4 separate regions of the Homo sapiens genome follow, and all the other regions are linked to region 2. The links are contacts of gene promoters, found by promoter capture Hi-C in blood cells and fetal thymus (Javierre and others, 2016). All regions are on one chromosome and are shown on one strand. Each heading gives the region's core, a stretch centred on a gene start or on the middle of the fragment in contact. The rest is flanking DNA. Distances are from core to core; before and after follow the strand shown. Region 1 overlaps GGACT (gamma-glutamylamine cyclotransferase). Region 2 holds the start of ARGLU1 (arginine and glutamate rich 1). Region 3 holds the start of TMTC4 (transmembrane O-mannosyltransferase targeting cadherins 4). Region 4 has its middle 4.0 kb from the start of RAP2A.

Region 1 (7,215 bases), core at 675-3,174, 6.0 Mb after region 2:
GTGCCCAGGGTCTGAGATTGCCTTCTAATGGTAGTTAGGTCATTTATGTTTGTTTGTAAGCCCCTTATTGCTTAAATGTTTAACTTTCTTCAGTTGACTTCCTCTTATCTCACCTCCCAACAGGACTGAAAACTGGATATTTGGTCCCCATGGACTTTCTGGTCACCCTGTGAAGTGGACTTAACTTTTTCTTGAATCATGTGGAAGGATTCTGAAGTCAAAAGTTTTTAAGACTCTCAGGCTTACTGTGGATCTGGATTCTAAGGCAACACTTCCTTGAAGAAACAAGCTTACAGGTGAGAACTGTTAGCCTCTGTTCTAGAGTGTTCATTGCTCAAATTCTAGAGCACCACAAGAAGTATGCTGACAAATAGTGCCAGTTGGAAGCCCTTGTCTCTTTGTCATTTAAGAATAGTAGTGGTGGGGAGCCAGGTACGGTGGCTTGTACTGTAATTCCAGCACTTTAGGAGGCTGAGGCAGGAGGATTGTTTGATCCCAGGAGATTGAGGCTGCAGTGAGCTGTGATTACACTGATTATGCCATTGTGCTCCAGCCTGGGCAACAGAGTGAGACCCTGTCTCAAAAAATTAAAGGAGGAGGGAAAGGGAAGGAAAGAATAGTAGAGAAAGTGTATATTCATTTCTTCATCTGTTTTTCTCTGGGGTTGTCTTTTGATTTATAAGAATTATTTATACATTGAGAATACTAATCTTTTGTCATACGTACTATAACTATTTCCACCCTATTTTTTGTACTTTGTGTAATACAGTCTCTAGGCTTTGCAAAAAATTTTAATTTTATGTACTTAAAAATATCGATCTCCCCTTTATAGTGTCTTTGTTTTGTGTTTTGCTTAGAAAGACTTGCCCATTTTAAGGTTTCTTTTAAAAATTCGTGTTAACACAGATAAATGAAAATGTAATGAGAGCTAGGAACATGTGATTCTGAAAAAGATTATTGAAGGGGGAGTATTTCCAGACAATAAATACCAAACTAATGTTGGCATTAAGATTGGCCGTATGTTGCTAAGTGTTGAAGTTGGGAGATGAGTATTTGAGAGTTCCTTCTATCATTACCCTAGTTTTGTACATATTTTACTTTCCATAACACAGTTTTTTTTACCAAGAAAAAAATAGCAGGGGGAAGTTATATCTTTGTCCCATTCATTCATATTCAGCAGCTATTTATTAAGCTATTCTGAACACTGGAGGGTATCATGTTAATGAATGAAAAAGGTGTTGGAATTTCTATTATGTGGGAGACAAATATTAGCATCATGGTTAAGGGCACCAACTTCTGTGTCAGACCGCCTGGCTTCTCGTCCTGACACTGCCACTTACTAGCTGGGTGATTTTGGACTTTTTAATTAAAAATATGTGTATAATAACAGCTGTCTGGAGGCTCTAGGGAGAATCTGTTTTCTTCCTTTTTGCAGCTGCTAGAGGCCACCTGCATTCCTTGGCTTATTGGCCCTTTCCTCCATATTCAAAGCTAACAATATTACCCTTCTCTGACCCTGCTTTTGTCGTCACATCTGTCTGATCTGATCCAGGGCAGGTTTTCCAGTTTTAAGGATTCCTCATTTGATTAGATTGGGCCCACTTGGATAATCCAGATTGATCTCTGCACCTCAAGGTCCTCACATCTGTGAAGTCCCTTTTGGCATAGGAGTTAACATATTCATAGGTTCCAGGGATTAGGATGTAAACATCTTTGGGTGGCCATTATTCTGCCAACCACAGATTTGAGGAGACAAAAGAAGGTGAATGTGGCTGAGTCCTTGGCAGGGAGGAGATGGGACTGGAGAGGGAGCCAGGGAGAGAGGATTCTGTAGGTCATCATAAGTTTTGAAGTTCCTCCCAACAGTAAGAGGAAGTTATGGTCAGATTTATTGCCCCAAATCTGAAATCAGCTGTTTCTCCAAGGAGCCCTGGTTAGCTGTTTTAAAGTGAAAAATGGTACTTAAAGGCCATAATCTGGCCCTAATAAGGTGCTCATTGCTGTTGGATTGGCAGTTGTTTTTAAGCCATTTCAACAGACAGAGACAGGGAAAACCATTGTTCAAGATAAAATATTTCATGAGCGCATACTGGTAACATCCAAGTCTTTTTCTGGACTACAACGTTTTTGCTTAATGTCATAGAACTTATATCCATACCCCTTTCTTCCACTCCAGAAATCTCAGTTCAGAACAACCCAGCATAATTTATTATTTGCTTTAGCCCTCACCCCACAGAGTCACTGCCACAGGGGTGTGGGGATTGGGAGGAAGACCATGGAGATAAAGTGTCATTTTTGCTACATCGTATCAAGCACACATACTGTCTACATGACTTCTCTCTTTTGCTGTTGATCTTGATTACCTGACTGAAATAGTGATTGGCAGGTTTCTCCACTGTAAAGTCACACTTTCCCCCTCCCTTCATACTGTGCTCTGAAAGGAAGTCACAGTGAGCAGCCTGCACTTCTGAAGGGAGGAGTTATTTAGGCTTCATCTCCTTAAGGGGAAAGTGTCTACATATGTTATTTGGAATTCTTCCGTGCAGGAGGGTTATCTGTTTTCTTGCATTTATTTACTCAGCCATTTATATCATTATGGACTCACAGATACTTATATTATACTTTAGGTTCTAATCCAATACTCCTTATTTTGTTCTCCAGTTGTTCCTGCTTTGGCCATTGGGAGCCTGTTCCATTGTCTCTTGTGTCCTTTCAACTTGTCCCATCTTTGTGGGCTGGTGGGTTTGTTTATTTTTGAGCACTTCCTTGCTTTCCAATATTGCTAGATGCCCTAGATTGATCTTGTGTATTTCCTGCTTCAGTCTTAGGTTCAGCCGTTTCTCTGGGGAACCCTGGTCCCCTCTGTTGGAGATGGTGTTAGAAACCACAAGCTGGATGCTGGTGTGCTCATTTCGACTGTGGTGGCATTGCTTTTAGGTCCTCTCAGCTGATGGAGCAAGGAAATGTCTGTGTGTACTGACCTGTGTATATACACATATCACTAAATACTTCTGTATGGAACCATTTGTTTCTGTGAGTCCACACTGGTGTCTCCAGCCCTAATCCTTTACCCCGTGGATCACTCTTGCGTTTTCCCTGCTGTCTCTCACCTCCCATTCCAACAGTGAGAAACGTGGCTCCCATTGCCTGTGGCACATTTGCCTACTTGTTCAGTACATATGTGTGTATCACAGTGTTGGAATTGCCATCTCGCCCTATGGGAACCACTTAAACAACGAGAGCCCGGTTTTTATGAATATACACAGTTCCTTTTGCCTTTAGTCTTGTAACTGTAGACTGGGCCAACAGGTGAAAGTTTCTTTGGGCAGGCTGAAATGAGATCCTACTACCTTGAGAACATCTTAACAGTCAGATCTACAGGGTGCAGATTTCATAGCTTCCCCCTGGCAGTTCTTCCATCACTTGTGAGCCCTGGCTGTTTTATTCTGCCTAAGCCAAGGCAGCCTTTGCTATCCTGACTTGACACAGAAGAGTTACTTAGTAACTGTGTTCATTTGCTAGGGCTTCCATAGCAAATTACCACAAACTGGGAAGCTTAAGACAACAAAAATTTATTCTCTGCTCACAGAATCCAAAACCAGAAATCAAGGTGCTGTCAGGGCTGCCCTCCCTCCAAAGGCTGTATGGAAAGTCCTTCCCTACCTTTTTCAGCTTCTGGCGGCTCCAGGCGTTCTGCGGCAAGTGGTCGCACACCTCCCGGCTCTGCTGTGTCTTCACATGGCCCCCTCCTCGGTGTCTGTCTTCTGTCCCTCATAAGGATATTTGCCATTGGATTCAGGGCCCGTGTAGATTGCCCAGGATGATCTCATCTCAGCTTCCCTAATTAATCACATGTGCAAAGTCCCTTTGCCGTGCGAGGTGCCATAGTCAAAAGTTCCAGGGATTAGGGCATGGACATGTTTGCTGGGGACCTTTGTTCTGTCAGCCTCACTTTGTGATGCAGCAGCAGTCGCAGGATCAGAGCAGATCCCCAGGCATTTTTGGCAGAGTAAGACCAGGTGCCAATCCCCGAGGTGTGTTTCTGCTGCTCTTATACACCGAGGCAGACCCATCAGGTCTAGACCCAGCAGGCCCCTCTTTCCTCAGCGCTGAAGGGAGGGGGCTTTGGGCTGACAGGAGACCTAAGTTCCACGTGTGAATTCCATCAGCAGAACGGTGCTCAGAACCTTCTGATTCACTCTGTAGGGGCAGAAAGGGGGTGATCCCTCTCTACCCTGTCATAAGGGTCATGGCTGACACCCCAATGACAAAGATTAACAATAGAAAAGCAAAACGTGTTCAATCATAGTTTTAAATGACATAGGAGCTTTCAGAATGAAGACCCAGAGACCCAGGGTGAACTCTCCAGATTTTGCTTAGATGTGAAGAAGCACAGACCGCCATGTGGAAATTCATTTGGAAAAAAGGGTGTGAGCTGATGGAAATAGACCGAGTAGGGAAGCCCAGCAAGGCCTGTCTCCTCAGGTTCTTCTTGGCCTCTCTGTTGTAGCATTTCTTCCTTCCAGGAATGGGGTAGGACCCTCTGGAATGAGGGTCTCATTGTCCAAGGTCTTTATGGCCAGCTGTTATACAGAAAGGCATGGGGAAGGCTAGAGAGTAGTATTTTTAGGTTTTATGGCTGGCTTTGGGGAAAGGGGTTCTGGTTCCTGTCACCTGCACTGGGGAAGAGAAGTTCTGGATCCTGTGGTTTGTCTTGGGGGAGGATGAGAGGGGCAAGACACACGCAGGAGAAAGTCAGAGAGACTGAGCTGCTGAACCCCTCAACTCCTAGGCCCTCCTCTCCCCACAGCTGTGGGTACTCCTGCCTCCGTACCCTGGGGGTGGTTTTGCTGCAGTTGCTCTTTTATTTGAATTTCATGTTATTTTGTCTTGCATAATTAATTGTTTTTGCATGCTAGCCTAAACACTGCAGGGCTGTGAGCTCTGATTGGGTGAGAACCATGCCTTCCTCATTCGGAGTCCGCCATCATGCCTTCCACATAGTGGGCACCCAGTAAGAAAGAACTCATTTCCAGCTAGTCGAGAGTGTTTTTACAGAACTGATGTTCTGAGTCAGGCCAGAGTAAATTAGAGTAAGGAAGAGTATATGCGGGAATACTCCCCATATTATGCTGTGTTCCTGTCCATTTTTCAAATGACCACATTTACTTTTCAAGCTTTTGAGTGTTAATTACCTCTTCCTGCTGTTGTCATCTGTACTTGGGAGTACGAGGCAGGTAAGTTAAAGAAAATTAATATTTTTACATCTCATGATGGTTTTATTAACTTTCCAGCATTAAATGAGGTTTGAAAAGTGTTCTTTGAGCCATTATTGAAAATAATCATAACTGCCTGCTTTGAATTACTCTTCCTCCCTTGATTTAGTTTTCTGCAAAGTTAGATCCAGATTATAAAAGCCTAATAAAAACTTATAAGAGGAGATTAGTATATCTCATAAATGAACAAAGAATGGTTTGACGGCATTGGAGGGAACATTGACGAAGTCTAAGTCATGGTTAACGTGGTAATTTTAGGAAGAATTGTGAACAGCAGGATCTTTTACAACAGAAGTCAAGTAGACTCACAGGTAAGCCAGCAGAACCAGGGTTCCGGGGCTTAAGATCAGCTGGGATATAAATGAATGTACTGACTGTGGGAGCTTGCCAGAAGCTCGGTTACCTGCCTCTCACTGGTTTTCTCGAGCCTCTGTGTCACTTCCCATCTGGGCTAACTGGCAGATATCTTACGCAAATGCGACACATTCTGGACTCTCAGGTTGCGGTGTAGTGGTGGCATAAGTGGATGTTTTCATTATGTAGAATAAAAACAATATTGGCAGAATATCTATAACAAAGACATCTTGAACAAACTTGTGTCCAGGGAGGTGCTCTCTCCATTGGCAGTGTTTGAGATTAGAGCTGTAGAGGTGAAGGTAGCCACTACCGTGGGAGGAAAAGAGGAGTGCACTTGGTGTTCGGACATTTCCCTGTGGACGCCCAGATGCCAGTATCGCCTTATCAAATGAATGGTTTTCAGAGTCAACTTTGTGATCAGGGCTCTCTTAGAAAACATCCATTTCCCTTTTCTATCTTTCCCTTCTGATATTTTAGTTGTGCCTGAGTAAATAACGAACCCCTGGTGAAGAAAGGCAAGTGAAAATATCATTCCCACCCTTTATTCATAACAATTAGGTACAAATTGGCCTTGAATTTGGTTCCTGCAGGGATAGAGACACATCCCAGTTGATGAACCCTTCTTCCCTCCCTGCTGCCCTCCCTCCTTTCCTTCTCCCCTTCATCCCTCCCTACTTTCCTTCTCCCCTTTCTCTCTTTTTTTTCCCTTTTCAGCATTTTACTGTGAACATTTCCAGACATACTCAAAAGTACAGTATAGTAACCCTCATGTGCCACCCACCCGGGATCAGAGATCACTGCACCATACTGGCTTTGCCATGCTTGTTCCACGTGCCCTCCTCCCTTTGTGTTTTGGACTTTTGTTTGCTTGTTTCTAGAGTTTTGAAGCAAATGCCAGAAATCATGTCATTTCACCCCCAAATATTTTATTATGAATTTTGAGGGTTTTTTACATAAATATAATTCTGTCCAACAATGAAAAAATATTCCTTAACATCTTTTAATATTTTATCCCAATTTCCTTTCTTTTTCTTTTTATTTATTTATTTATTTATTTATTTATTTATTTTTGAGATGGAGTCTCGCTCTTGTCACCCAGGATGGGGTGCAATGGCGTGATCCTGGCTCACTGCAACCTCTGCCTCTTGGGTTCAAGTGATTCTCCTGCCTTAGCCTCCCGAGTAGCTGGGATTACAGGCACCCACCACCACGCCTGGCTAATTTTTGTATTTATAGTAGAGATGGGGTTTCACCATGTTGGCCAGGCTGGTCTTGAACTCCTGACCTCAGATGATCCGCCGTCCTCAGCCTCCCAAAGTGCTGGGATTACAGGTGTGAGCCACTGCCCGGCCTATTTTTCTAAAACAAGGTCTGTACAGTTGGTTTATTCAAGTCAGAATTTTTAAATCCCATCTATTGTATTTGGTTTATGTATCTCTTGTCTCTTTTAAAAATAATTTTGTATGCCAGGCATTAATTTGATTCAGAGTGTTCTTATTCTTTTACCTTTCATTTTTAAACTGTTTTAGAGTAGTTGCATGCTCTCATGCTTTCATTCATTATTATTAAGTTTACAGTAAAA
Region 2 (6,152 bases), core at 3,033-5,532:
TTGGAATGATCTGGATTTGAATGATGTGTTATTTATATTTGGCTATCCTAATTATTCAAACATGAACTGAGAAAATGCTTTTATTGGAGAAGGGAATGGAGGAAGGGAGGCAACTAAAAATTTTAAGAGTCTGAAAACAAAACAAAACAAAACAAAACAAATGAAGCCAAACTTATACTTAGGATAAAAAACCATGCAATTCTCTTCTTTCAAGGTGTATTCGGCATATATTTATCGAGGTTAGCTAACCCATAGGGTGTCAGTGGACACAAAACAGTCAAGATGCCGAGAATTTGGATTCTGGTGGCAAAAAATAGTCAATAAAGAAATACATGAGAAAATAAGGTGAGTTCAGGGAGTGTGAAATGTCAAGATTTTGATAATTATACTATAAAATGCAGGCATAAAATGTGTGTGTTCCTCATTCCTTCAATGCATCCTCAGAGATGATCCCTGGTAAATTAAGGGCTTTCATGCACTTTTTCCTTTTTTTTTTTTTTTTTTTTTTTCCTGGCAGCAGCCAAAAGACATGGCCAGAGCCTGAGCAGGGTAAATATCATCTTTTTTTTTTTAGACAGAGTCTTGCTCTGTCACTTAGGCTAGAGTGCAGTAGCCCGATCTTAGCTCACTGCAACCTCTGCCTCCTGGGTTCAAGCAATTCTCTGCCTCAGCCTCCTGAGTAGCTGGGATTACAGGCACCCGCCACCACGCCTGGCTAACTTTTGTATTTTTAGTAGAGACGGGGTTTCACCATCTTGACCAGGCTGGTCTTGAACTCTTGACTTTGTGATCCACCCGCCTCAGCCTCCCAAAGTGCTGGGATTACAGGCATGAGCCACCACGCCCGCCCCAATATCATCCTCTTTTAAAAGCTCCATAATCCCCTATACCTCTACATCCAATCTCCAGTGGTCTTATAAGAAGAGGACAGACGTACAGTAAAGATGGAGACAGGGACTAAAAGCCAAGGAATGCCAGCAAGCACCAGGAGCTAAGTGAGAGGCAGTGAACAGATTCTTCTCCAGAGCCTCCAAAGGAACCAACTTTGCTGACATTTGATTTTGGACTGCTGGACTCCAGAACTGTAAGTGAATACATTTCTGTTCATTTAAGACATCAGTCTGTGGTAATTTGTCGGGGCAGCTCTAGAAAATTTATACACTAACTCATTGGAAATAACTATCTTTATCATTAAACAGACATCATTCTGGATTATATATATATGTAATATACATATATATAAACAAAATTCCAGATATATCTATACATCATATCATATATTCACACCATATATGGATATATAAACCATATATATCATTCCCACTGGATAGATAGGTACAGATACGTACAGACAGATGGTTAGATTGACAGAAATATTTCTACTATAATGGGGGTAATTCTATACATTCTATATTAAATGTGATTTTACTTGAACGTATCTGAAGTAAAAGAATAGATCTATCCTTCTATTGCACTGTTTTCCTATTTCTGTCCTAAAATCTTGTTGTTCAGTTTATTCAATTTTGTGTAGGGCAAACAGGTACTGTTTGCTACGGTCTAAATGTTTGTGTGCCCTCCCAAACCCAGATGTTGAAATCTAATCACCAATGTAATGGTATTAGGAGGTGGGGCTGCTGGAAGATGACGGTATTAGGAGGTGGAGCCGCTGGAACACGATGGTATTAGGAGGTGGGGCTGATAGGAGACAAAGGTATTAGGAGGTGGGGCTGCTGGAACATTATGGTATGAGGAGGTGGGGCTGCTGGGAGATGACGGTATGAGGAGGTGGGGCTGCTGGGAGATGACGGTATGAGGAGGTGGGGCTGCTGGGACATGATGGTATGAGGAAGTGGAGCTGCTGGGACAGGATGGTATTAGGAGGCGGGGCTGCCGGGAGACGATGGTATTAGGAGGCGGGGCTGCCGGGAGACGATGGTATTAGGAGGCGGGGCAGCTGGGAGACGATGGTATTAGGAGGTGAGGCTGCTGGCTCTGCCCTCATGAATTGGATTAGTTCCTATCTTAGTCCATTCAGCCTACTATAAGACTACCTCAGACTGGGTCATTTATAAACAGCAGAAATTTATCGCTCAGAGTTCTGGAAGCTGGGAGTCCAAGATTAAGGCACTGGCAGATTCAGTGTCTGGTGAGGCCTCACTCTCTGCTTCATAGATGACACCTTTTTCTATGTCTTCACATGGTAAAGAACGGGTGAACAAGCTTCCTTGGGCCCCTTTTATAAGGGCATTGCTATGGCTTAAATGTATGTGTCTCTCTAGAATTCCTATGTTGGAGCCTAAAATCCACTATAATAACATTAAGAGCTGAAGCCGTTTTGGAAGTGATTAAGAAATGAGGCTCCACCCTCTTGAATGGGAATAGTATCCTTACAAAAGAGGTTGACAGGAGTGTCCTAGTTCCCCCCCCTTTTTTTTTGCCCTTTTGCCTCCCATCCCTTCCCTCATGTGAGGACACAGTGTTCGTCCCCTTCTGTGGACCCAGCAAAACAAGGCACTATCTTGGAAGCAGATAGCAAGCTCTTATCAGACACTGACTCTGCTGGTACCTTTATCTTGGACTTCTTAGCCTTCAGAACTCTGAGAAATAATGTCTATTATTTATAAATCACTCAGTCTAAAGTATTCTGTTATAGCAGTGGAAATGGGCTGAGATAGGCACTAATTCCAGTTATGAGGTTAGAGCCCTCATGACCTAATCAATATCCCAAAGCCCCACCTTTTAATACTATTGCACTGGTGATTAGGTTTCAACATATGAATCTGAGGGAACACAAACTTTCAGACCCTAGAAGTGCCACTAAAAGAGAGCTCAGAGAGCTAGCTTTCCCCTTCTATCATGTGAGGGCACTGTGAGTAGGTGCCTTCTGTGAGTCATCTGTGAATCTCTGGGTCCTCACCAGCGACCAGATTGGCTAGCACCTGGATCCTGGATTTCCAACTTTCAGAACTGTGAGAAATAAATTTGTTGTTCATAAGCTGCCTAGTTTATGATATTTTGTTACAGCAGTCAACACAGACTAATACACTACTCTTCTTTGTTTCCAAGTTTTCTTGATAATTAATTATGTGATCTTCCATATAAAACTTAAAATTAATTAGTTCTAAAACACATATCCCCAAGAGAATTTGGGACTCTCATGAGAATTGCACTAATTTTGTAATTTGACTTGGGAAGAATTGACAGTATTTTTGATACTGACTACTCACCTAAGAATACAGCATGTTTTACATTTACTAGGGCCTTATTACTGCCTTTTCAGTAAAGGTTTATAATAAAGATTGTGTAACTTGTTAAAGTTTATCCCTAAGTATTTTATGGTTTCTGTTGCCATTGTGGAGGAAATATTATTTCATTTTTAATATGTTTTTGCTTATTCAAATAATTCTAATTTTTCTTCTACTTACTTAAGCTTTATTATTGCACTCAATTTTAAAATTGAGGCACCTAGATTTTCAAGGGTTCCTGTCATCTGCAAATATTAACATTGCCTTTTCCTTTTAGGTCTTAACAATGACACAGTTTGTTGTGCCACATAGGGACGAAGCTTTTCGTGGCTAGGGTTGAGGAGGGCTTGCTGGTTATGTGCAAGGGCTTTGCACAATATGATCTAGGTTCACGTCCCTGCTCTGTCACCTACTGGTTGTGTGACCCTTATTTAACCTCTGTGGACCTCAGGGTCCTCATCTCTGAAACGTGGATAATAGTAGTACTTAATTCAGAATTGTAAGAATTAAGCACTTGTTAATACATTAAAGCATTTAGAAGGCACATTAAGCCCTATAGTAAGCATTAGGTTACATTCATCAAAACCTGCTGCCTACTTACCTCCTGCAAGTCTCATAAGCACTTCAGAAAGTGTGGTGTCTCCATTCTACGAATGAGGAAACTAAGTCCAAGGCAGCAAGTGATGAGTGCAGGGTCACTTGGAGATACATTTTAGGGCTGCCCCACAAGACCAGCTCCTAGAAAATAATGCAATCAATCAACTTCTGCGAGGCCGGACTTAAATCCCACTAAAACGTGCTTAATTCATTCAACAGGCGTTGGCATCTTACCAGGGAGGAAAAAAAAAAAAAGAGTACGCCAAGGCGAAAAGGAGAGTCTCCATCTATTGCGTCTCAGGCTTCCGCCAAGACTGGCGGAAAAAAACGAGTCCGCTCCGAAGCGCTCGCCTGCCTTCGGCAAAAATCGTCAGGAGGCGGGGCCCACGCTTCGGCACGTTTCGCGCAGGGCATTGTGGGAAGGGCGGCCGGTGCAGCCGCAGCTGCCATCTTAGGGGCGCCTGGCGCTACGGGTTTCTCGTTGGAGGCGGCCTTCGTGGCAGCTGTAGACGCCGGGAAAAGGCATAAAGTCCGTTGGCCGACACCTTTCTTTCCTCCGGCCTCGGTAGAACCGCCAGCCCGCGTCCGAAGGCGGAGGCGAGGGGAACTGGCCGCGTGAGGGGCCTGAGGCGAGCGGTTAGAGCGTCTCCCGGAAGGATGGGCCGGTCTCGGAGCCGGAGCTCGTCCCGCTCCAAGCACACCAAGAGCAGCAAGCACAACAAGAAGCGCAGCCGGTCCCGGTCGCGATCCCGGGACAAGGAGCGCGTGCGGAAGCGTTCCAAATCTCGGGAAAGTAAACGGAACCGGCGGCGGGAGTCGCGGTCCCGTTCGCGCTCCACCAACACGGCCGTGTCCCGGCGCGAGCGGGACCGGGAGCGCGCCTCGTCCCCGCCCGACCGCATCGACATCTTCGGGCGCACGGTGAGCAAGCGCAGCAGCCTGGACGAGAAGCAGAAGCGAGAGGAGGAGGAGAAGAAAGCGGAGTTCGAGCGGCAGCGAAAAATGTGAGTGCCCGCGCGGGGAGGGACCGGGGCGTGCGGAGAGCAGGGCGCGGGGCGAGGGCGTGGGGCCGGGGCGGGACGGTGCGGGCCGGGAGAATGGCGGGGACGGTCCGGGGCTGGGGACCGGGCGCGGGAACGGGTCGGAGAGGCGGCGGCGGGGCGGGCAGGCTTGGCGTTTGGAAAGCTTGGGGTGGGACAGACCCAGAAGTTGTTCGGGATGGAAAATTCGAGGGCTTGAGCAGAAAGGGTTTAAGAGAAGGCGATTTTGGCGCGAGAGAGGAGTGGTGTCCCGGAAGTAGGGGTGGAGTTCGGAGTGAGGTCGGAGAGCTGCGTTGGCTTGTGAGGCCGGGAGCGAGCCGGCCTGCAGATGTGGAGGGTGGTGAGCGTTTGCTGGTCGGCTTGAGGAGGAGAGAGAAGGGAATTAACCTTTGAGATGCGAATCACAGCTGGCCAGAAGCATTCTATTGAAGCTCAAATTTGGGACAGGACTTAACTAATCTCGGGAATCATACACTTTAGGTGGTCCGCCAGAAAAATGCATTTTCACTTTAGTGTATTCCTGTTGTTAAGGTGTTGGGATTGCTTTTTTCCCCTTGAGCCTACACCCTCACCCCTTCCTTGAGATGTTAAAAAAAAAAAGCATAGACCTTAAGTGTACAGTGCGATGAGTTTTTTGACCTTTGAATTCACCTGTGTAATCACCATCCCAAAGCCTACCGCTTTTTTAACTTGCTTTCTATTCCTGTAGCAAACACGTGCAGTTTTGTTGTTTCCCTTACACTGTGCTTCTTCAGAAGACACTTGAAGGGTTGATTTTATTTTGGCGTTGCTCCCATGAAGGATATTTAGTGAAAACTAGAGTTAGAGTGTGTTTCCGAAAATGTCAGCTCTCAAGTATTTCTGGCTATGAAAGTAGATGTGGATAAATAATCCCAAACTAAAGGAATTTTTGGGTTTTAAAATTTAGGGATTTGTTGTGTGTTTTGCTTTATGATCATCGTACTTTGATGCTCTGGGTATTCAGTTTCCAAAAACCGCATTGAAAAGTAGATTTGAACAGTCCTACTAACTCCCTATTGAACCAGCCGTACTTGGTCAGTTCTTCAGTGAATATTTAGAAAGTGCTCATGAAGCAAGAACGTTACTGAATTTATGATTTTCTCGAGGCGAGTATATGTGTGCTGAATTGACTGCGTGGTTTGTAGTTTTCTGTAGTTGGGTTTGTGTTAGGTAGATTTTCCAGCACACACACACAGCTTGTTTCTAAAACCAAAGTTACTAAAAGGTAGGACTGGAGCACTAATATTAC
Region 3 (6,727 bases), core at 1,715-4,214, 5.9 Mb after region 2:
AAATGCTCATCATCACTGGCCATCAGAGAAATGCAAATCAAAACCACAATAAGATACCATCTCATGCCAGTTAGAATGGCTATCATTAAAAATTAAGGAAACAACAGATGCTGGAGAGGATGTGGAGAAACAGGAACGCTTTTATACTGTTGGTGGGAGTGTAAACTAGTTCAACCATTGTGGAAGACAGTGTGGCTATTCCTTAAGCATCCAGAACTAGAAATACCATTTGACCCAGCGATCCCATTACTGGGTATATACCCAAAGGATTATAACTCACACTACTATAAAGGCACATGCACACGTATGTTTATTGCAGCACTATTTAAAATAGCAAAGACTTGGAACCAACCCAAATGTCCATCAGCGATAGACTGGATTAATAAACTGTGGCACATATACATCATGGAATACTATGCAGCCATAAAAAAGGATGAGTTCATGTCCTTTGCAGGGACATGGATGAAGCTGCAAACCATCATTCTGAGCAAAGCATCACAAGGACAGAAAACCAAACACCACATGTTCTCACTCATAGGTGGGACTTGAACAATGAGAACACATGGACACAGGGTGGGGAACCTCACGCACCCACACCGGGGCCTGTCAGGGGGTGGGGTGCTGGGGGAGGGATAGCATTAGGAGAAATACCTAATGTAAATGACAACTTGATGGGTGCAGCAAACCAACATGGCACATACATACCTATGTAACAAACCTGCACGTTCTGCACATGTACCCTAGAACTTAAAAGTATAAAAAAAAAAACTGACTAAAATCTCATCTGCTTTTTATTTCCACCTATATATACAACCATATGTGTGTTATAAATGTTTCTGATATAAAGGATGTGTAATAAACAATACACAAGTAAAAGGCAGACACTCTTTATTGTCAGTTCTATCTACTTGACTGATTCTCACAGAAAGCTTTGCTTCTTTTTTGCCAAAGGCTTGTATCTGAATCCATCCAATGCTTGTAACTCAACCATGATGTGACTAGTGAAATTACATACCGATCCACTTTTTGCCAACAAATTTATTGTCCTTAAATCTGATATGTGATCTGTTAAACTACTTCTTACCCTTGTATAAACTCATTAAACTGCAATCTTGTTTCAGCACTAAACACATTTTTAAGTTTAATCTACATTATTAACATCTTCCCCATCACTTTCTGAAGTCTAGAGACAATCAGCAAAACAAATCGATCCCTGATTCATGATTCATAATGTTGGCTAATTTCCATGGTGTAAATACTTCGACCATGGCCCATTACAGTCTACCAACGAGACATCACTGAGTGTGGGCCGGGAAAACGCACGTGCAGTAAGCACATTATGATACGTAATACTGGAAATGGTAGGAAGTGGACAGACTTCAGAGTTATTTAGGAAGTAGAATCTTGGCGATTTGTTAGATGCCGAGGTGAAGGCAGAGTTTGGGAAACACTGGATAGTGGTGTCTTCACTATCACAGGGAGACAGGGAGTTGAAAGCAAGCAGGGAAAGGACGCATTCAGTTTTGGATGGGTTCCATTTGAGGTGCTTGTTACCAGGAGTAGCTGAATAGGAAGCTAGATAAACGGATTTGGAGCTCAGAGGAGCAAAGATTAGAGTTGCAAATTTGGGATATATTGATTTAAATGTTGACAGCAGGTTAAATCATTCAGGGAAAAATTGTGGAGTAAGAGGAAAGGTCTGAGACCTTGAAAACTCTGTTATTTGGTGGTCACCCAGAGTAGACAAGCACGCCAAGACTGGGGACAGACAGGAAAGTGGAGCACCCCCGCCACAGGAAGACGTGTTTTAAGGAGAAAGAAGGAATTTTGCTCAGATCAGTTAACACGAGAAAGGAGAGTGTCCTTTGACTTTAGTGATGTGGATGCTACTTGCGACAATTAAAAAGGCAATTTCACCGAGTGTGAAAACGAACACGTGGAGTTGAGAGACCACAAAACTGGGGGCAGGCGCCTCTTTCACCAACTTCAGCGATGGAAAGTAGAAGAGGGTGGCAGCAAGGGTACGTGGAGTAGAGAATCTTGGAATGATGAAATGCCGAGGATACGGATTCCAGTCCAGAGGGAGCAACGGATCGGATTCTGCGATACTGGAAAAACAGAAGGTGGGGGGGGGGGCTCGGTGATGGAGGGAGCAGGTGTGCAGTTTTGCCGGTGGAAAGTGGAAGTTTCTCTTTTCTCCTGAAGCAGGCGGCAAAGACCTCTGAGAGTGGGAGTGTGGTGGGTGTGCCGGGCCCCTGGATGGGAGTGGAGGTTTGGAACCAAGTGGCCCGAGCCTGCGGTGAGTGGGCCCGCCCTGGGTGGCTCTGGCCGCAGCAGGGTCGATGGGGCGGCATGGTCTCGGCGGGAAGAACACGGCTTCAGTCAGTTCTGTTCTAAGAAGCAGAAGGTGGAGATACGCATGTTTTAAACAACTCCTCCCGGACAGGAAGAAGTGGAGTTCTGGCTGTTCTGCGAGGACGCCGCAGTCCCAGCGTGGAGACCACCGCGCAGGCGAAGCGCGAGACAGGCCAGAAATAGGGTCCCGCGCGCGGACCCCGGAGGAAAAGCGAGGGCTCACTCGGTTTCCCGCAGCCAGCCTCGCCCGACCCAGCTGGGGCCGCCCCTTCCCGCCCCGGCCCCGCCTCCGCCTCAGCTCCGCGCCCACAACCCGGCTTCCTCCTCTCCCGCCGGGTCCGTCTGTCCCTGCGCCTCCTTCGCCGCCGACTAGCGCCCCCTGGCCTGACGTCACCGGCGCGTCCGCCAATGAGCTGAGGAGGGACTTGGCTGTGGCCTGAAAGTGACGGGAGCAGCAGCCAATGGTCGGGCGGAGGGGGCGGGCCGAGACTGGTGCTGGGGGGCGCCCGCGCGCGTGGGGAGCTGCGGGAGGCGCGGCGCGGGGGGGGTCGGGTGCGCGGCGGGCGGCCCCTCCCCCTGCCAGGTCCGGGCGGGTGCCTGGAGCCGCCAGAGTTTCCGCACCCGGGAGGGAGATGCGGCCGGGGCTCAGGCTCCTTGCAGGTAACGCGCGGGGCGGCCCCTGCAGGGCCGAGCGCGCCGCGGGGCGAGCGGAGTTGGACGCGGAGCGGGCGCGGGTTCCCCGCTGCCGCCGTGTCCCGAGCCCCGCACGGCGGCCCGGGCCAGAGCGGCGCTGCTGGAGGAGTTGGTTCCGGGACCTGAGCTGCGGCCCGGGCCGGGGTCACGGGGGACGCGGGCCCCTGTGTGAGCCGCACATGGGACAAAGGGCGCGGCGTGGAGGCTGCGCGCCCCGCCCGCCGCGCTCGGGCCCCTGAGCTTCTCCGCCCGGGCAGAGGTCGCCGCCCCCAGCCCCTGCCTGCACAGCCGCGCCGGCGCTCCCTCGGCCCGGGCGCACCCGGCGCCTGCGGCGCGTCCCCGGAGCGGCCATCTGGCCGCGGGGCCCCGCGCCTGGCCGCCAGCTGGCCGCGGCGCAGGCGATGGCTGGACACAGCCGGGCCGCTTGGCCGCCTGCCCTGGGTTCCGCGGCGGCTCCCCCGCCGCGCCGCGAGCGCCTGCTACTCCACGCTCGGCTGCGGAGCGGAGCGGCGCGAGCGCGGGGCCACCGGCCCGGGCGCCCGGGGCCACCGAGCCGCCGCTTCCCGGCGTGGGCTCGGAGTTTGGGGAAGCCGAGCAGGTGGCGCAGCCACTGCCCACCTCCTGCGAACTCTGCGGGGCTTCTGGTCTTGTTGATGTTGTGGCTATGGGCTGCGTGTGTGTTTTTCTTTTTTTTAAACCACACACAAAAGAAGGGAGGAGTTAGAGGAACGATCTAGCCACTATGAGTCATCCCACACTTCGCTCTTTCCCCGGGAGAGCAAATAAATGCATGGGGAGAATGTCTTGAGAAACAGTTATAGTAGGGACTGACTAGGTCCCCTCCCTGTCCCTTTTCTCTGCAGTCCTGTCTGCGCCGGGCGCGCCCCAGATGGAGTGGGGTAAAATCACGGCCAGTGCACCTAGATAGGGGAAATGGCTACAAGCTAGCAAACTGGAAACTTTCTGGGACAGTGGAACTGTGAATATCAAACCACACACATTCTTGCTATAGGCAGCCATGGCCCTCGTGCGCTACTGAATTATAAAATGGGAAGGCCGTCACAGCAGGACGATACCTTAGCCTTCAGTAGCATGTATTCAGCACTGCACGGAGGAGGGCGGTGGTGGTGGCTCGCGCCCCTGCCTTGAGGGGCCCAGGGTCTGATCAGTCAGGAAACTGCCAGGCCCAGGGATGCAGGGTCACAAACGATTGTGTTCTCTAATCTGATTCCCAGAGGCGCTGTCACCTCTCAGCGTGCATAGGATGGCTGGCTATGTGATTGAATGTTACAGATGAGGTAGAAAGGCTGGGCAGAGGTCAGCAGGCCCCTGGATGCATGGAGGGGAATATTCTTCTGTAGGTGGCTGCTGCTAATTTTTCCAAGGGGAAACATTTAGGTTTGGTCTCGCCATTCTGTTTACCGCAGTCCAGGCTGCCGTGTCAGCTGTCATTGGGCCCTCATGGTTCACAGCTGGATGACATTTGTTTTTCTGGGGTCCCTGTGTGGGGTCTTTTTGGCCTTCTCACTGATGATTAATTTGTTTTAACCTCCTGAAAACAGAGGCTCGATATGAGAAGTTTGAGAAATTGTAGGATAAAGGGACGTCTGCTTTGTTCCAGATTCAGCCCCTGTTGAGGGGCCAGTTGATTCTGTCGCAGGAGTCAGGTAGCGAGCAGAACACTGACTTCATTCCTCCTGGGTTGTGCCCTCTGCTTGGCCTGTAGCAGAGGCCACAGTGGGTCTCTCTTTTTGTTGCTTCATAAGGTGAACTAACGATCCAGCTATGGCAGAGGAGCCAGGGAGCCCAGGCAGGACATCATGTGGAGAAGAGGGACCAGAAAGTTCAACCTAGGGCCCATCTGGAAGAAAACAGAGCATCCTTTCCTATTTCATGTCCTGACTGTAAAAAATGGTGGAGGCCGGGCACGGTGGTTCACACCTGTAATCCCCATGCTTTGGAAGGCTGAGGCAGGAGGATCGCTTGAAGCCAGGAGTTTGATTCCAGCCTGGGCAACATAGTGAGACCCTGTCTCTACAAAAAAATATTTAAAATAGCCAGGCATGGTGGCATATGCCTATAGTCCCAGCTACTTGGGAGGCTGAGGTGGAAGGGTCCCTTGAGCCCAGTAAGGTGAAGCTGTGGTGAGCTATGATCATACCACTATACTCCAGCCTGGGTGGCAGAGTGAAACCCTGTTCAAAAAAAGGGGGGAAGGGATGTAGAGAGGGTGGTCCCCCGTCTCTGCCACCTTGCTCAGACAGGGCTTCTTTTAACTGAGTGCCAGGCCTGGCTCAGGTCATTGAGGAACAGAAGTCGTTTAGTGTTGGAGGAAGGAGAGTTGGGAACAAGGTCACTGTGCATGGTTGTACAGTTTGTGCCAGACACCTGACCAAGGAAGCCATGTGCCCCGGGTCTGCCCAAAAGAAGGGCCCGCCTTTCTCAGTCGCACCAGGTCACCCGATGGGCTACTGCTGGCCCTAGTGCTCAGCCCATCTGCAGGAATAAACACTGGCAACATGGGTGCGCCCGAGACAGGCAGTCAGGGACTGGGAAGCAGCGGCTAATTTCTCCAAAATCTAACAATAATGAGAACTAGTTGTTTGCATACATTTTCTCCTTTAATCCTTACCACCACCTTCTGAAGAAAGTGGTGGTGGTACTGTGTTGTGCCAGTGAGGAAATTGATTCTTAGAAAGACTAAGCAGTTCAAGGTCGTGCAGCCGGCAAGTCCAGGTTTGTCCGTCACCAGAGCCTTTGGTCTCAACCACTGGACTAGACTGATCACTTTGCCTGGCTTTCTAACAAATTGTAGCTTTTTTTTTTTTTTTTTTGCGTTTGCTAGTGAAAGGCATTTTCCAAACTGTTCCACTATGTACGTTAACAGTAAATCCCTTCAAAGAAAAGAGCATTTGTGAGTATTTTCAGTGGCAGCAAAGAAGTGGGAGGCCTTGGAGAAAGGAGAAGGAGCCCCCTGAGATAGAGAAGCAGGGGAGTCACAGCAAGGAGGGGAGAGCCAGCCAGAACTGGGAAATGATGTAGGGGCAGGGGCGTTGGAGGTAGGCCAGGTTTCCTGCTGTCCCTGCAAGAGCAGAGGAGGAGATCATCTGAGATCCACTGAGTCAGCCATCCACTTGACTTCCCAAGAGTCTGGACCTGGCCTCCTACCAGGGCATCTCGTTGATGGTGTGGTCCACAGTCTGCCTTATATATCCTGGGGCTGTGGCTTGGAACATGATTATGCTTAGAACATATTGCTTAGAACACGTTTATGTTCTAAGCAATCTGAGGTACAGTCGCTAATTTAGGAGCACAAAGTATTTCCTGATTTAGTATTCTACTTAGAAGGCCATTTGAACCTTGACAAACGTTTGTGAAATAATTTTCAAATATTTGAGCCTGAAGCAGATAATATCCAGGCTCAGTGGCACACTCCTATAGTCCCAGCTACTTGGGAGACCGAGGCAGGAGGGTTACTTGTGCCCAAAAGTTGAAGCTAGTCTGGGCAACATAGCAAGACGCCATCTCCAAAAATATATTGCATGAGCCAATAAATTCACTATTGAAACAATAAAACAGATAACGTCAAAACCGGTTACATGACCTTTTGTCAGCTCATGACTCTATTGTGCATTTAAAATTGCTATAAATTATTTGTTTTCCTTCACATTTAATTTTC
Region 4 (6,819 bases), core at 2,622-5,121, 9.1 Mb after region 2:
AGGCTTCTGACTGAAGTTGTGTAAACGCAACAAAATGAAGCTTTGGAGCGTTAGGACATTGATGGGAGGGTGACGCCCCCCTCTAGCAGCGCGCCAGAGGGGCGAGTCAGAGGCGGCCACACACCACGGAAGTCGGGTCCAAGCCCGCTGACGTCGCCGGGGTCCCGCCCACCAACCCTCTGGACCCGCCCACATTTCTTCTAGACCCGCCCCTTTCGGTGCCGAACTGAAGTCGAGCTCTTCCCACGCCCTGTCAGCCACGGGTGAGTTGAAAACCTGGAGAGCGGAATCCCGAACGGCAGCCGGAAGGCCCTGGACTCCTCATAGCAACAGCCAGCTAGGGGCATCTAGTGGGAAGCTGGGATTCATTCTAGCCAACCACATCACGTCTCTGTACCACAAGGTACCATTCACGACCAATAAGAGAGCGCCCCCATACCACGTGCCTTTACTCCTTCAACCAATCGAGAAAAACGCTAGTCGTAGGATCCGCAAGCCCACCTCCCAGTGCCTTGCCAGGCGGGGCTCTTCGCGCACGCTCTGCCAACCAATCGTAGGTGAGCTGGCGAGTGACGGAAGCTTCGGCCAAGCCAACCAGAGCTCGCGAGCCCCTTGCCACCGAGGCCGGCGGGATGGAGACAGGGACCGGCTGCTGGGGTTTGGGAGGGGCAGAGATTGAGGAGCCAGTTGCTGTGCCCTGTTCTGGCAAAAGAACAAGATGCGTTGCAAGCCAGAATGATGAATTCCACTTTTCACGTCGCCTCCGTGGCATTCTGCCTAAATGATGGGCATGGAAATGGTGCTGAGGGATGTGGGCTGAATCGAGAACACAGGGACTTTTGTCTTCAGGGTGAGAAATGTTCCGGTCCTTAAGGAAACATCGTGCAGCAGTTGCATGGGTCTTCCAGGCGTTCCTCCCAAAACATTATTTTTTTTCTTTCACTATTGAGTTTTAAAACTTAGCGTTCTGTCGCTAGCATTGCATCTTAGTTACACATCCTCTCCCACCCATAACGTCAAATTTAGGAGACGATACATCCCCAAGCTTTCCTGCATTATTTTTTGCAGTAACTGGTTATTCAGTTTACTTTCTTTAAACTATGTCCTTCTCAAACTAGTCTCACCTGTTCGTTACTGTCGCACATTTCCTGCGAATAACACGTTTCTGTAGTTCTGTTGTTAGAGCCTGGCATACCTCTCCCCGTTCCTCTTTCCCACAAGGTCATCATGCAGAGGGGATTTTGGTCTGAGTTAAAAGCCAGGTATTCTTTCACCATCTTTTCTGTCGATAGTCAAACTACTACAAAGACTACTCAAATTTAGTAGTTTCTTATTTCCCTATAGCTTCGTTATATTAGAATGGATAACTTATATTTGCATTACCTTGCTGTAATGAACACACACCAAGTTTTCATTTAAAATTATCAAGGACAAATGTCCTCTGAATTTAAAAATGTGTATGTAGTAAAATATAACTCAGCATTTCTTGATTACATATCATTAAAATATGAATGGTACTATCTGAGCCACCAGAATCAGCAGTGAAGGTATTATATTAATAAAAAGGACTAAGAATCAGGACTGTTTTAAGGGAACTGGAACCGAAGAGGATCTACTATTTCATCCTAGGCTAGTTAACATGAAATAGTGAATTAAAATTGAAAGAGCTTACATGGATGCTTCATATCTGAGCTACTTTGGCAGGGATGTTTCAAGAGGATGTAGGTAAGTATGGTGTTCACCTAGCTTTCCAGAAGTCTCATATTTTGTGTAAAATTGGTATGCTTATTCATGGTTACTTTGGGTTAGTAGAAGCTATACTTCTTTTCCAAGGAAAGACAGACTGTCTTAAGATTCTAACTGTGCATCTTGGTGATAAGAAGTTCTTAGGGTTGTTAAATAGAGCCAGGAAGCGTGAAGCTTTCTCTCTAGATCATGACAACTCATCTAGTACCTTGCATTACAAAGGAGCTCTAAGTCCATTTACTTTGCAAGGAATGAAGTTCCAGTGATTAATGTTTTTGAGAAATTTGTATTGGGATTGTGGGGTCCAGAAGGTTGCCTTAAGTAACTGTTTTCATGACTCCTAGGTCCCTAGATGTTGAGAAGCTCTGGATTGAAGCTGTCACAAAAATAGTGAGTGGGCTCCGTAGTCACTCCATTTAGCATAATACAGAGTAGGACAGCTTTGTGACATTTCTCAGGCTATTTCCCCTGACCTCTCATCAATGCTGACGTTTTTGATAAGAAGGGGTATAGAGACTGCAGCCCTTGGGGTGGTTACAGTTCATTTATTTACAGGCCTTATATTGACAGGCCTCAGATTTCATGCTCAGTACCATAAAGGTTGATTTTTAACCACCAAGAGGCAAAAGAAACATGACAGGTCGGAGCATATTTTCTCACCTATTCTGGCTTAAATGATGGTACTTACCTGATTTGTGGTTGTAGGTGAAATGTTGGGTGAAAGATTAGCTGCTATAAAAAGGATGTCAGGACGTGTAGAGAATTTAGAGGACTTGGGTGGGAGATGGATGTCTATTTTCTAACCCCTTAGTCATGTTCATTCCGATGCCAGCATAAACTCTATTTTGAGATGATTATAGAAATAACTTATATCTTCATTTGTTTGTGGGAAATAAAAAATAAAAATGATATAAAAGAAATTTGAATTATTCCCAAGAGCTGTAAATCTGTAAGATAGTGAAAACTTAACGCAGTAACTGACACTGCAGGATCCCTTTAGTTTCCAAAGTGCATTGCCAGGAGAATAAAAAGAAAGAAAATCTTCATTTCTCCTCTCTCCACTAAATCTGAAAGGGAGTTATCTCACCTATAGCCAGATACCTTCAATTATCGCACTTGTGTTACCGTGGAAACCCAAGTCCATCCTTTCTTTCTGTAAAAGGTGTTGGAAAAGGTGGTATGAAGTGGGAAAGGTACTGTATTCTGGGACTTCCTGACACCAGCAAGAAGCAAATATGCAGATAATTTAATAGAAACAAATTAGTAGAGGATGTTTGTAATGCGAGGGGTACTTTTCGACTGTAAAACCCTGATTCCTAATGCTTCTTATTAAAGCCTGCATGCCTCTGATTAAACATAAAGGGGAAGGGCATGTCAAGTACATTTAGCACCTGTGAAACGCTGCTGGCAAGTATAAGGAGAGCAGACGATGGTTTCTTGACCTGTGAGGCTCCTAATACAGTTGAGAATCTGCAGTATATATGTGGAGTGGAAAGGAAGGGGCAAAATAAACTTTGTTCTTCCTTTAAAAAATGTGATATGTCTCAGTGCTTTTGAAAAGAAAAGGAATTAGAATGCAGAAATTAAGAGTATGGAAACAACTCAATAAAAGAAACGTATGGGTGGAGAGAGTAGATGTTTCAAAAGGCCATTTTAATCAGAAAAAAAATCTGAAAGAAAAGACGTAATGATTAAAATGTAGGCAGAAAAAAGAAAAAGCCTGAAGAATCTTAAGAGCTAGAGGATTCTGCGGAAAACAGAGCTTCAGTGTGGTTCATTTAACAAAGCAGAAGAGCAGGCACAGTGTTGCTTGCGTACCCAGCAGTTTCCCTTTATTTTTGCCAAAGAAGCTGGGATGAATCAGGATTGGACTTTAATAGCATTGCTTTCCCTCTGCCCACGGTTAGTCCAAAAGTAGGCACGTGACTCAGTTCTTGTCATTGGAATGGGGAGAAGGCTGCTAGGGCTGGAGGGATTTCTAGGATATTGACAAGAGTGAGGAAATATCCCCGTTTTCTGATGTCGCTCTCTTTGCTTCCTGCTTTACACATTGAAATATGAGAATGTGGCCTCCATTTGGGGGCTATGATGCATTATGACATTATGGTGCAATACTGTAGAAAGCCAGCAACTTCGGATGGCCAGGGAGGAGGATGGGAAGAACCTAGGTCCTGCATGACAACATTGGACAGTCAAACCAACATTAGAACTGCCCACATTTGGACTTATGGCTAAGTAAACAGCTGGTGTCTTTCAATTTAAGTGTGTGTTGGTAAGGTTTTCTGCATCTTACAGCAAAATACATCCCACCTGTTAACAAAAAGTATGAGGGATTCCAGCCAAAATCGGGCTTTAAAAAATCAGCAAGCATTTGTGAGCACTTTCATTTCACTAATATCTGAACGATAGTTCAAAGATACTATAATATTAATTGAGTAATTACTGTGTATATTTTTTAGGCTCTGGGGATAAAACAATAAGCAATTAGCCAAAAGAGCTTGTATTCTAGCAGGAGAGACAGATATTAAGCAACCAATTACATGTTTATATTATAAAATAATGGTTATGCTTAAAACTAATAAGGAAAAATCAGGAATTAGAAAGGGTATATAGTAATTATATAAATAATAAAATATTACAAAATATATAACTAAATAACTGAATGAAATTACAAAAACAAACACTTTCCAAGTAAATGAGAATGAAATGTATAGTTTTTACTGACATTCCCAGAGGTCGAGAGAAACAGTAAATTGGAGTAGGTTAGTCCAGGAGAGTTGTCTGAAGCAAATTAATATTGTATCAGGTTTTGAAGGAAGTGGCGAAAGGACAGGCTAGATGGGGCAGAAGAGAGCACTCTAGATGTAAGGAACCAGAAGAGCAAAGGAAGAAAGCAGGAATGAAGTAAGAGTGAATGAGGGAAATACCAGAATCACTTGATTTTTTAAATTCCCTGTAGCAACAGCATTCTAGGGGCATCTCTCAGAGAAAAAGACAGAAAGATGCCAGAAGTCTCAAAGCAAGATTATTTAAAGGTATAAAAATAATATAGGAGAAAAATACAGAAGACAAAGTAGGAGTACAAGAGTGCATTTGAAATTAAGGCGTCATTCAAAATAATGAATAATTTATAATGTGGGCGTCAAAAGAGTTGTCATAAGAAGTAATTATGGATTTAAGGGCATCAAGAAGGAGGGATTCAAACTTTCACAAATAGAAATAGAAGGAAACATGAGGAGTGGCAAAAAATGAAGACAGGTAGAAAAACAGTTTTTGCTTGTTATTTTTCCATGATAGCTGTTATTGACATGCATTATGTAGAAATGAATGGAATTTGTTTGAAAAGAAAAATTTCAATAGAGCAGTAATACATAAAGGTAGGCTTTTTGGTAAATAGTGTAATTTAAAATGTTTTCACTAGAATGCCTTTTTGTACCTTCCTGTAGGAAAATCTTTTCAACAAAAAAAGCTGTAAGTCATAATAAGTTACAGATTAGCAAAGCATTTTTGAAATAAAAAAAAACCCATAGATGTGCCAAATGTAATAGTAGAGCAACAATAATAAATATTTGTAATAAAAATCAGAACTTGTTAGGCATTATGTGGTTTCTGGTCAAATATGGTTGTACTAATTTTTCTAATGCTATTTTCTGTACAAATATAAGAATTTTTTAAATTAAGCTATGGTAGGTATATGAACACATCTTGATATTACTGGAGGTAGGATTTACCACTCACTTTTTGTGACCCCAAGTGTAACCCTGAACAGACTTCTGTCTTAACACCAATAACACATGATTGCACTGTCTTCTCCAGTGACTGGGGAAAGGGACAGTGCTTTGTTCATTTTTGCTTTACCAGCATTCAGCACATCGCCTAAAAACAATTGTGGGAATTCATAAAATGTTTGTAAATAAATGAGCAATTGAGTGGACTATAATGTTGCTTCTAAAAACCCTGGGTTTTGAACACAGAGAAGATGAGAATAAAAGGAAAGGAATAAGGATTTTCCCCAAATCAAGGTGAGGTTGATGTAAATGTCCTCCAAAGTTGGTCTAATCTCCAAAGAAGCTTGTATCTCAAAAACAGTAAGTCTCCAACAGGCAAAGTCAATGGCAGTTTGTAGACCTGGAATTTAGGAGTGCCAGGAAAGATCTGAAAAATCATGTCTTCTATCAACTGACTGTTGTCTGAAATTCTGCACTTAGGTTTTAGTCTTTTGATGTAAAAGTTATTTTTTTCCAATTAAAATGTAAGTAGGAGATATACAGTTAAATTGTACCATCAGTCTGTCAACTTCGGGGCATGCAACTATGCTTACCTGGATGAAAAAGAAAATGAAGAAAGTAAAATAGAAGAACGTAGTTTAAATTGGGGGATAAGTCATGGCATGAGTATGTGCCCAGAGCGAGTATAAGAAGGCCATGGAAATCCACTGTATTTTTGTCATACACTTATTAATTTGTTTCAATAAGGTTAATCACTCCACATGGTGTAACAAGAAAAATAACAGCCTTTACAATTACTAGATTCTTAAACTTATTTCAAATACTTTTTAATTTTTATGAGATTATAAGAATTTTTTAAACTTTGAAGCTGCATGCCTTGTCTGATTCCTTCCATTTCTCTTCTGCTTCTCACATTATTGTGTTCAGCAATGGTTTGGAGGCATCTTGGGGAAGACAGAGCAGAGTTATGGTGTAAGGACCATCCAACTCTTCTCAGCAGCCATCCAGTTATCTTGTCAAGGGAAGTTACTCATCCTGCTCTCTAGAATTATCTCCTCAAAAATCGGTTTCCTGCTTTTCACAGAACAGTACACCATCTTTTACTATTATCCTAATTAATGCTTCTCACACAGCCTTACAAAATATTAGTCACTTAATTATTAACCACATTCATTGGGCTGCACTAGTTGAAAAAGATGTCTTGTTTACTTAGTCAAAGCGCTGTCTCTGTGCAATGGCATTGATGGTGAAATTGATCAGAGTCTACGTTTGAATGAGAGAAGCTGAGGGAGACATTTCAGAAATAGTAAGCCTTTTTATTTCCTTGGTGTACCAGGTAGTCAAG

Evidence for each region. Contacts are between HindIII fragments. The CHiCAGO score rates a contact against its expected background, and 5 or more counts as called.
Region 1: a contact is called between a fragment that was not itself captured here and the fragment with the promoter of ARGLU1 in region 2, in 1 of 17 cell types (naive CD8 T cells). The highest score is 6.0, in naive CD8 T cells.
Region 3: the fragment with the promoter of TMTC4 here is called in contact with the fragment with the promoter of ARGLU1 in region 2 in 3 of 17 cell types (non-activated CD4 T cells, activated CD4 T cells and naive CD4 T cells); the score reaches 9.4 in non-activated CD4 T cells.
Region 4: a fragment that was not itself captured here is called in contact with the fragment with the promoter of ARGLU1 in region 2 in 3 of 17 cell types (total CD4 T cells, naive CD8 T cells and total CD8 T cells); the score reaches 8.6 in total CD4 T cells.

What each region holds. Positions count from the first base shown.
Region 1 is chr13:100,576,906-100,584,120 of GRCh38, reverse strand. It overlaps GGACT (gamma-glutamylamine cyclotransferase), which reads left to right. Exons shown (of 3, transcript NM_001195087.2): 2 at 124-296. Among named protein-coding and RNA genes, the nearest start is that of GGACT, 8.3 kb to the left of the region's middle. The HindIII fragment of the contact is 3,266 bases long and covers 292-3,557 here.
Region 2 is chr13:106,566,267-106,572,418 of GRCh38, reverse strand. ARGLU1 (arginine and glutamate rich 1) reads left to right here and starts at 4,282. Exons shown (of 4, transcript NM_018011.4): 1 at 4,282-4,846. The coding sequence starts at 4,500. RefSeq lists enhancers at 4,141-4,210, 4,221-4,340, 4,016-4,926 and a silencer at 4,821-5,120. The HindIII fragment of the contact is 1,462 bases long and covers 3,568-5,029 here.
Region 3 is chr13:100,671,032-100,677,758 of GRCh38, reverse strand. TMTC4 (transmembrane O-mannosyltransferase targeting cadherins 4) reads left to right here and starts at 2,964. Exons shown (of 19, transcript NM_032813.5): 1 at 2,964-3,015. RefSeq lists enhancers at 2,294-2,373, 3,699-4,588 and silencers at 2,564-3,063, 3,094-3,453, 3,504-3,583. The HindIII fragment of the contact is 7,703 bases long and covers 932-6,727 here.
Region 4 is chr13:97,426,778-97,433,596 of GRCh38, reverse strand. No RefSeq gene overlaps it. Among named protein-coding and RNA genes, the nearest start is that of RAP2A, 4.0 kb to the left of the region's middle. RefSeq lists enhancers at 1-41, 1-244, 192-331. The HindIII fragment of the contact is 3,897 bases long and covers 1,923-5,819 here.